Linked DNA regions of Homo sapiens: region 1 is linked to region 2. The links are contacts of gene promoters, found by promoter capture Hi-C in human tissues and cell types (Jung and others, 2019). All regions are on one chromosome and are shown on one strand. Each heading gives the region's core, a stretch centred on a gene start or on the middle of the fragment in contact. The rest is flanking DNA. Distances are from core to core; before and after follow the strand shown. Region 1 holds the start of KANSL2 (KAT8 regulatory NSL complex subunit 2). Region 2 overlaps DDX23 (DEAD-box helicase 23).

Region 1 (5,172 bases), core at 1,917-4,416, 160 kb after region 2:
ATAGAAATGTTCAGTGTTTAGAATTGGGGAAAAGAGAAACGAGACAGAGAGTGGGTGACTGATGTAGATGGGAAACTAGGAAGAGTATGGAGATCTAGAAAGAGTATAGAGTTCTAAGGAGGAGGAGTGGCCAAGTGTGTTAGACATTGCAAAGTGGTCTAATAAGATGATGCCTGAAAACTTCATTAGAATTAGCAAGGTGAAGGTCTTTGATAACTTTTTTTTTTTTTTTTTGGAGACAGTCTTGCTCTGTCACCCAGGCTGGAGTACAGTGGCACAATCTTGGCTCACTGCACCCTCTGCCTCCTGGGTTCAAATGATTCTCCTGCTCAGCCTCCCAAGTAGCTGGGATTAAGGCACATGCCACCACACCTGGCTAGTTTTTGTACTTTTAGTAGAGATGGGGTTTTACCATGTTGGCCAAGCTGGTCTTGAACTCCTCGCCTCAGGTGATCCACCCGCCTCGGCCTCTCAAAGTGCTGTGGTTATAGGCGTGAGCCACTGCGCCCAGCCGTTTTCATCTTTTTTCTCACTTTTCTCTAGGATTAGCCCCCCAAACTCTAGTTTCCTAATCCCTATTTACAAATAGCTTCTGGTCTACTTTAACCTCTTCAATAGCTACAAAGTGTTCAGTGAATTAAAAATAACCATCTACCTCCAGCCTGGGCAACAGAGCAAGACTCCATCTCAAAAAAAAAAAAAAAGCCATCTACTTTGTTAAACAGAACAAAGAATTTGCTGACATCTTGAGCTCTTAATATCTGCTCCCTCCTTTCACTTAGAAGTGGTTCTAGGCCGGGCATGGTGGCTCACGCCTGTAATCCCAGCACTTTGGGAGCCTGAGGTGGGCAGATCACGAGGTCAGGAGTTGGAGACCAGCCTGGTCAATATGGTGAAACCCTGTCTCTATTAAGAATATAAAAAAATTAGCCGAGCATGGTGGCGCACACCTGTTGTCCCAGTTACTTGGGGGGTAGGCTGAGGAAGAAGAATCCCTTGAACCCAGGAGGCGGAGGTTGCAGTGAGCCGAGATCGCGCGCCACTGCACTCCAGCCAGCCGGGGCGACAGAGCAAGACTCCCGCTAAAAAAAAAAAAAAAAAAAAGAAGTGGTTCTAAATAGTAATGTTTTGTCTGTCTTGGACTTACAAGAAGGATTCTTTTTTCAACTAAGACCTTCAGTAAATTCATTGAAAGAAAGTCTTTTGTTTCTTCCCCATCTATTCCTGTGTCTCTTCATATTGTTCACTACAGTAGTTTTAATGTTGCTTTTTGATATTACTACATTTGGTTGCAGATTCGGATTCCCAAATTTTCTGTGACATGACTGCCTCTGGCTGTTTTTTAATTATAGGGTGTTTATAACAAAACATCTTTTTTCGTACTCCTGAGGGTTGGTCTGTTTGCTTATGTATATAAATCATTGTTATTAATATTATGTTTGTATTGCATCCATAATCCAAAGCTATCCTAGAATGTTCACTCCAAGAGAGCAGGGTTATCTTCCTTGTTCTCTCCTGGCACTTAGGTGCTCAATAAATATTCGTTGAATGAATGAATTTCAGGCCTTCTTCTAGGGCTGCTCTAGTCTCTGGAAACAGCACAACCCCCAAGGTTTTTTTTTTTTTTTAATAATTTATCGGTCCTATAGTGTATTTATTTATTTATTTATTTATTTATTTATTTATTTATTTGAGATGAGGTGTCTCCATATTGCCCAGGCTGGGATCGAACTCCTGAGCTCAGGTGATCTTCCCACCTCAGCTTTTCAAAGTGCTGGGATTACAGTGGTGAACCATGACGCCCAGCCTTAGTGTTTTTCTTGAGGGCTGTGGAATCTTTATGTTCACTTCCACTGGGACTCATGCTCACTTGCTCGTTAGGCATGGATAAAACATCTTTCTTAAACTGACAGTGAGGAGATAAGAGATGCTGGAAAGCAAAAAATGTCTAGAAGGGTTATGGGAAGAAAGCTAGGAATCATTTCTACAAGTGGTGGAGATGACAGAAAGATGCTTTTAAACTAAAAATCCTTAAAGGATGGTATGATTGGTATTGTGTCTGTCATTTTTATGATACCTGCATTATTTAGCATGGAATTTTAAAGACAGGGCACACAGTTATGAGAAGCAGCCCTAAACTAGAACAAATATTTCCTTATTCTCAGTCCAATGCTCTTTACTATATAAGAGGCAATAAGGGATAAAGAATGCGGGCTGGGTTCAAATTCGTCTTCCTTTCCCATTTAATAGCTATGGTCCCATTCTGTTCCTCAGTCCTCTTATCTGTAAAATGGACATAATACTAACCTGTACCTCTTAGGGTTGCTTTGAAAAATTCAATGACTTTATACATGTAATTCCCAGAATCAGTAAACACCCAAAAAATGTTTCTCAGTGTTCTCTATACCAAATGTTCAGTACATGTATTGAACTGTTCACAAAAGAAAGCTAAAGACTTTTTATGTGTAAACAGTGATCCTCCAGCCTCTGTCTGATTTATTTTTTATTTATATATTTTTTTGAGACGGAGTTTCGCTCTTGTTGCCCAGGCTGGAGTGCAATGGCGCGATATCGGCTCACCGCAATCTCCGCCTCCCAGGTTCAAGAGATTCTCCTGTCTCAGCCTCCCGAGTAGCTGGAATTACAGGCGTGCACCACCACGCCCGGCTAATTTTGTATTTTTAGTAGAGACGGCGTTTCTCCATGTTGCTCAGGCTGGACTCGAGCTCCCGACCTCAGGTGATCTGCCAGCCTCAGCCTCCCAAAGTGTTGGGATTACAGGCGTGAGCCACCGCGCCCGGCCTGTCTGTCTGATTTTATACTAGCTGTGTACAGTGGTGAGGGAACAGCAGCCTAGGACCACAGACTGAGGGTCCAAAAGTAGCCGGAAAACGAGCCACGCTGCAAGGTGGAAAAATATTAGCTGGCAACCCGCCCCGCAGCCCGCTCTCCGCCCCCTTCCCCGGCTCACTCTCCTCCGGGCGGAGTTGCTGACAGACAGTCTGTCTTAGCCACCCCAACCTCGCATTTTCTCAGCGCTCCGCCCTCCCAGACACGATAGGTAGTTGGTCTCGGCCAATGGCGACATCCTGTCATACGAGCGGTAGCCAATGAGTAGCCAGGAGTCCGGAAAGGGGCGAGGCCGATCTGAGAGCCGCTGGCGCCACTAGAGAAGGGCGAGCGGCGCGGCAGAGTGCGGCGCAGCGCAGCTCCTGAGGTAAGATGGCGGTGCTCTTTCCTCTAAGCTCTTGCGGTTGGGCTGCTATTTCGCTCTTTTTGTCAGCTCAGAGCTGCTACTCCGCCTCAAAGCAGTGTCAGAGTCAGTCTCCTTCCTGCAGGCTTCCAGGAGCCAGGATCTCCGGTGACTGGAGCCGTAGGACAAAATGGCGCTCGCATAGGCTTCCGAGGCCAGGCCCAGTCGTGCGCTCTGAGGCAGGCCGGGACAAAGGCGGCGTGCGGGGAGGCGGCGTGGCCGCCGCGTGGGGCTGGTGTTGTCGCTTCCCTTCGTGCTGCAGCTGTGCGAGTCCTGAAGATACATTCAGCGTGGTGTGGTTCGGGGTGGGGCCGGGCATGGAGGGACACGCTAAAGGGAGGCAAAGCCACAGATGCCTGTGGAGACTTGGGGAGGGCGGCGGGGACTTACGGAGCGTACCTTACGGGGACGACTTCTGCATGTCCTTTGGAAACTGTCCGCGCGATCTGTGTGGAGCAGGAATTTTCGGGAAGGGTAAGGGCTTTTTGGTCTTTCGTTTGACCCCGCAGGTTTTGGTTATGAACAGGATTCGGATTCACGTCTTGCCAACCAATCGGGGGAGGATCACTCCAGTGCCCAGGTCTCAGGAACCTCTGTCTTGTGCATTCACTCATCGTCCATGCTCTCACCCTCGTCTGGAGGGGCAGGAGTTTTGCATTAAGCATATCCTTGAAGACAAGAATGCACCCTTCAAGCAGTGTAGTTATATATCGACGAAGAATGGAAAAAGATGTCCCAATGCTGCCCCAAAGCCAGAGAAGAAAGATGGGTATATATGTATAGATATATATGTCGTTTTTCTTAAAGCGAGGGGGTATGTGATATGATGCGGGCTTCAGCATAGCTGCCGCGTTTGAGATTTTGTCCTTGTAAATTTGGGGTTATGGTTGTATCCTTGGAAAACTGAAAAAACGGTGAAGACTGGAAAGACCCTTGAGTTGGATTACTTAGTTCACCTCTTTGGTTCTTTTCCCTTATCTGTAAAATAAAGGCATATTCTAAATTAGTCTTTTTTTTTTTTTTTTTTTTTTTAAGAGAGATGGGGTCTTGCTATTTTGACCAGGCCGGTCTCAAACTCCTGGCCTCAAGGTATCCTCCCATCTCGGCCTCCCAGAGTGCTGGGATTACAGGCGTGAGCGACCGCGCCCGGCCCTAAAGTTAATTTTTTGGCGGGGGGGCGGCGCACAGATTCTTGCTTTATTCCCCAGGCTGGAGTGCAGTGGAGATCTCGGCTCACTGCAACCTCCTCCTTCCAGGTTCAAGCGATTCTCCTGCCTCCTAAGTAGTTGGGACTTAAGGCGTGCGCCACTATGCCCGGCTAATTTTTGTACTTTTTAGTAGAGACGGGGTTTCACCATGTTGGCCAGGCTTGTTTTGAACTGCTGACCTCAGGTGATCCATCCGCCTCGGCCTCCCAGAGTGTTGGGATTACAGGAGTGAGCCACCGCACCTGGCCCCTAAAATTCTTCTTAATGGAGGGGTGTGTGGCTCTATTTGGCTGTCCATGAATTTTGTTAAATAACATGCAAAGTTATATATGTGTGTATTCTTCTGTAAGAGGCTTCATAGTTTTCATCATGTATGCAAAGGTATCCATGCAAAAACATAACCTGACTAGATAATTTTTTACGTATCTTATAGTTTTAAAATTGTGTCCCTGGCTGGTCGCAGTGGCTCATGCCTGTAATCCCAGCACTTTGGGAGGCCACGGGAGGAGGATCACTTGAGGCCAGGAGTTGGAGACCAACCCAGGCAATACAGTGAGACCCCGTCTCTACAGAAGATTAAAAAACTCGCTGGGCATAGTGGCGTGGACATGTAGTCCCCACTACTTGGGAGGCTGAGGTGGGAGGATCACTTGAGCCTGGGAGTTCCAGACCAGACTTGGCAACATAGACTTCGTTTCTACAAAAAACTAA
Region 2 (4,626 bases), core at 49-2,548:
GGGAATATAGATAGCAGTATCTTCTTGGCTTGTGGTGGTGGCCATGTAGGCTAAATTCATTGTATATTAAAGAGTTAAGGAGGGCCAGGCGCTGTGGCTCACACCTGTAATCCTAGCACTTTGGGTGGCCGAGGTGGATGTATCACCTGAGGTCAAGAGTTCGAGACCAGCCTGGCCAACATGATGAAACCTCGTCTCTACTAAAAATATAAAAATTAGCCAGTGGTGGCAGTACTCGCCTGTAGTCCCAGCTACTCAGGAGGCTGAGGCAGGAAAATTTCTTGAACCCAGGAGGCGGAGGTTGCAGTGAGCTGAGATCACACCATTGCACTCCAGCCTGGGCGACAGAGTGAGACTGTGTCTCAAAAAAAAAAAAAAAAAAAATTTTTCTCTAAACAACCACACCTGGCTAATTTTTGTGTTTTTACTAGAGACAGGGTTTTGCCATGTTGGCCAGGCTGGTCTTGAACTCCTGACCTCAGGTAACCCACCTGTCTTAGCCTCCCAAAGTGCTGGGATTATAGGCATGAGACACCGCGCCTGGCCTAGGGGAAATATTTTTGACATCAGTAGTAAAGTCCCACTTCCCAAAAGAGATTAGTCTCAAAAGGAGATTTGGGTAGAAAGGGGCCAAGACAGGGCCATAATTAGGTTTCAGAGCTGGCAGAATGACCATGCCTGCTAAGAGAGTTTCAAGACATGATAGATGACCATGGGCCAGTCTTGTTGAGTCATGGGGAAACTTCCATTCTCTTTTCGGGGCTCAACTTGAACCTCATCCAGGCACTGAAGTAAGAGTGATGTGGACCTTGTTCCTTTTCCTCAAAGCTTATCTCCTGGTCGAGGAAAAGACTTTAAATCTCGGAAGGACAGAGACTCTAAGAAGGATGAAGAGGATGAACATGGTGATAAGAAGCCTAAGGTAAAGGAGAGGAAGGATATTTTTCATCTTCAACTCGTGCGTTGCTTTGTTGATCTTTAAAGGGAGAGAGCCTTTATAGACTAAAGTTCTGTTTTATCTTCAGGCCCAGCCATTATCCCTGGAGGAGCTTCTGGCCAAGAAAAAGGCTGAGGAAGAAGCTGAGGCTAAGGTAAGTACTTGAGGGTCTTCATTCATCGGCTCAGGCTGCCATAACACAATACCACAGACTGGGTGACTTCAACGACAGAAGTTAATTTTCTCACAGTTCTGGAGGCTGGAAGTCTGAGAGCGGAGTGTCAGCAGGGTTATTTCTTCTGAGGTCTCTCTCCTTGGCTTATAAGGCTGTCTTCTTCCTCAGCTCTTCACATGGTCCTCCCTCTGTACACATGTACCCCTTGTGTTGGATTAGGGCTCACCCTAAAAGGCCCTTTTTTTTTTTTTTTTTTTTTTTTTTGAGACAGAGTCTCACTCTGTCGCCCAGGATGGAGTACAGTGGCATGATATCGGCTCACTTCAACCTCCACCTCCCAGGCTGAAGCAATCCTCCCACCTCAGCCTCCCAAGTATCTGGGACTACAGGTGCGTGCCACAACGTCCAGCTAATTTTTGTATTTTTTGTAGAGTCCAGATTTCACCACGTTGTCCAGGCTGGTCTCGAACCCCTGGGCTCAAGTGATCTGCCCTCCTTGGCCTCACAAAGTGCTGGGATTACAGGCGTGAGCCACTGTGCCCAGCCTAATGGGCTCATTTTAACTTAATCACCTCTTTACATGTCCTGTCTCCACATATAGTCAAATTCTGAGGTACTAGGAGTTAGGGCTTCCACATAGGAATTTTGAGCTGGGTACAGTGGCTCACACCTGTAATCCCAATACTTTGGAAGGCCAAGATGGGAGGATCACTTGAGCCAGGGATTTTTAGACCAGCCTAGGCAACATGGTGAAAACCCATCTCTATAAAATTTTAAAAATTAGCCATCTGTGGTAGCATGCGCCTGTAGTCCCAGCTACTCAGGAGGCTGAGGCAAGGATATTGCTTGAGCCCAGGAGGTTGAAGCTGCAGTGAGCCATGATGACACCACTGTACTGCAGCTTGGGCAACAGAGCGAGAGTCTGTCTCAAAAAATATATATAACACATGCATTGTTTGTTTGTTTGTTTGAGATGGAGTCTCGCCCCGTTGCCCAGGCTGGAGTGCAGTGGCATGATCTCGGCTCACTGCAACCTCTGCCTCCCAGGTTCAAGCAATTCTCCTGCCTCAGCCTCCTGAGTAGCTGGGATTACAGGCACGTGCCACCATGCCTGGCTAATTTTTTGTATTTTTTTAGTAGAGATAGGGTTTCACTGTGCTGGCCAGGCTTGTCTTGAACTCCTGACCTCGTGATCCGCCCATCTCGGCCTCCCAAAGTGCTAGGATTACAGGCACAAGCCACCGCACTCGGCCACATTTTTTTTTTTTTTTTAAAGGTAAGGTCTTGCTCGTTTGCCCAGGCTAAAGTACAGTGGTGCAATCACAGCTCACTGTAACCTCAAACTCCTGGGCTCATATGATTTTCCTGCCTCAGCCTCCTGAGTAGCTGGGACTATATGCACATGCCATCATGTCTGGCTGAGTTTTTTTATTTTTGTAGAAACAAGGTCTGCTATGTTGCCCAGGCTGGTCTTGAACTCATGGCCTCAAGCGGTCCTCCCATCTAGGTCTCATAAAACACTGGGATTACAGGCATGTGCCACCACGTCCAGCCTGAAAAAACATATGAATTCTGTAGGGGACATAGTTCAGTCCATAACCGAGTCCAAGGCCTATTTGTGTTTTCCTCAACAGGCTTAATGCCTGAGCAAATACTTTTGGGTTCCCTGCCATCTCCCCATCAGTGATGTGATTGTACCCTGCTCCCAGATCCTTTGTTGACAGTTCCAATCTCTTTTGTAGCCCAAGTTCCTCTCTAAAGCAGAACGAGAGGCTGAAGCTCTAAAGCGACGGCAGCAGGAGGTGGAAGAGCGGCAGAGGATGCTTGAAGAAGAGAGGAAGAAAAGGAAACAGTTCCAAGACTTGGGCAGGAAGATGTTGGGTTTGTTATTCTACCCTGTGTAGCCCCTAGATGGAAGAGGAAAGAGTGGGATGAGATACAGTGTCTCTTAGGAGAGATAGAAACCTGTTCACTCTGGAGTTTGGAAAGGGGAAGGATGGTGGGAGTTTATGAGAAAACATTTTTCTGTTAGATCTCCATTTACCCCATATCATAAGTCTACCCCTTTTTTTCTTCATTTGGGGTTCCTCGTCTGGATTCCCTCCATTCCCTCTCCTCTTTTCTTCCATGAGCTCTTCTGCAGCTTTGCTTTCTTTGGTCTGCAGAAGATCCTCAGGAACGGGAACGTCGGGAACGCAGGGAGAGGATGGAACGGGAGACCAATGGAAATGAGGATGAGGAAGGGCGGCAGAAGATCCGGGAAGAGAAGGATAAGAGCAAGGAACTGCATGCCATTAAGGTGCAGGCCTTGGCTCCATCTTCACTTCTCTCCCACACAAAAATGAGGTTTAGTTATTTGGCCATTGTGATCTCTGCATGTGAGAATTGGGCCTCAAAGCTCATGTGCTTTGTGTTCTGTCCCTGGGTAGGAGCGTTACCTGGGTGGCATCAAAAAGCGGCGCCGAACGAGACATCTCAATGACCGGAAATTTGTTTTTGAGTGGGATGCATCTGAGGACACATCCATTGACTACAACCCCCTGTGAGTGGCTTCAGGCCTGAGTTCTAGGTCTTTTCCACTAGGCAGTCCTAGAGAGCTGATGACTACGGAGGTGGAGGAAGTAAGATAAGCTGGGATGGAAAATTGGTAGACTGGTAGTCAGCCAGCCCTCTGGTGGAAGAAAGACCCTGTCTGGGAAGAACTGTTTCATACTAGTAGTCTGCCCTTCCTTCCTACTGCCGTTAACAGCTCCTTCTTTTTTCTTTTCCTCTATCTCAATCCCAGGTACAAAGAACGGCACCAGGTGCAGTTGTTAGGGCGAGGCTTCATTGCAGGCATTGACCTCAAGCAGCAGAAGCGAGAGCAGTCACGTTTCTATGGAGACCTAATGGAGAAGAGGCGAACCCTGGAAGAAAAGGAGCAGGAGGAGTGAGTGATCAAGGCTAGGGTGGCTGGACAGAGCCCAGAGGCTCTACAGAAAGGAGTTGGAGGGCACTGATTCTACTTACTCCTCACACCCTGCTCCAGGGCAAGACTCCGCAAACTTCGTAAGAAGGAAGCCAAGCAGCGCTGGGATGATCGTCATTGGTCTCAGAAAAAGTTAGATGAGATGACGGACAGGGACTGGCGGATCTTCCGTGAGGACTACAGCATCACCACCAAAGGTGGCAAGATCCCCAATCCCATCCGATCCTGGAAAGACTCTTCTCTGCCCCCACACATCTTGGAGGTCATTGATAAGTGTGGCTACAAGGTAAGGAGGGATAGATTGGCCCAAGAGATCTGACATGTTCCTACACTAGTTTGGGAATAGAGAACTTTGTTCCTTGACTATTTGGAGCCATCGCTGCTAGTGGGCACCAATGTGACCTTTTCTGTCACTTTCTGGTAGAAGTGTTGGCTTTTAGTGATTAGGTTTCTTCTTGGGGTCCCTATTTCTGTGAACTGTACTTGGCATCCTTCCATTGTGCTAGCAGATGTGCTTACTACTATCAGTGGTTGCCCAGGTGGTAT

Evidence for each region. The method cuts DNA at HindIII sites, captures the fragments that hold promoters and counts their contacts. A contact is called where the count stands out against the background at its distance.
Region 1: a contact is called between the fragment with the promoter of KANSL2 here and a fragment that was not itself captured in region 2, in 1 of the 25 tissues and cell types used here (thymus).

What each region holds. Positions count from the first base shown.
Region 1 is chr12:48,680,232-48,685,403 of GRCh38, reverse strand. It overlaps KANSL2 (KAT8 regulatory NSL complex subunit 2), which reads left to right and starts at 3,166. Exons shown (of 10, transcript NM_017822.4): 1 at 3,166-3,217; 2 at 3,763-4,022. The coding sequence starts at 3,772. RefSeq lists silencers at 2,819-2,868, 2,909-3,118 and an enhancer at 3,199-3,468. The HindIII fragment of the contact is 9,488 bases long and covers 1-5,172 here.
Region 2 is chr12:48,836,309-48,840,934 of GRCh38, reverse strand. DDX23 (DEAD-box helicase 23) reads left to right here. Exons shown (of 17, transcript NM_004818.3): 4 at 829-922; 5 at 1,026-1,091; 6 at 2,855-2,993; 7 at 3,278-3,411; 8 at 3,542-3,654; 9 at 3,898-4,041; 10 at 4,141-4,366. Among named protein-coding and RNA genes, the nearest start is that of DDX23, 14 kb to the left of the region's middle. The HindIII fragment of the contact is 3,147 bases long and covers 1-2,871 here.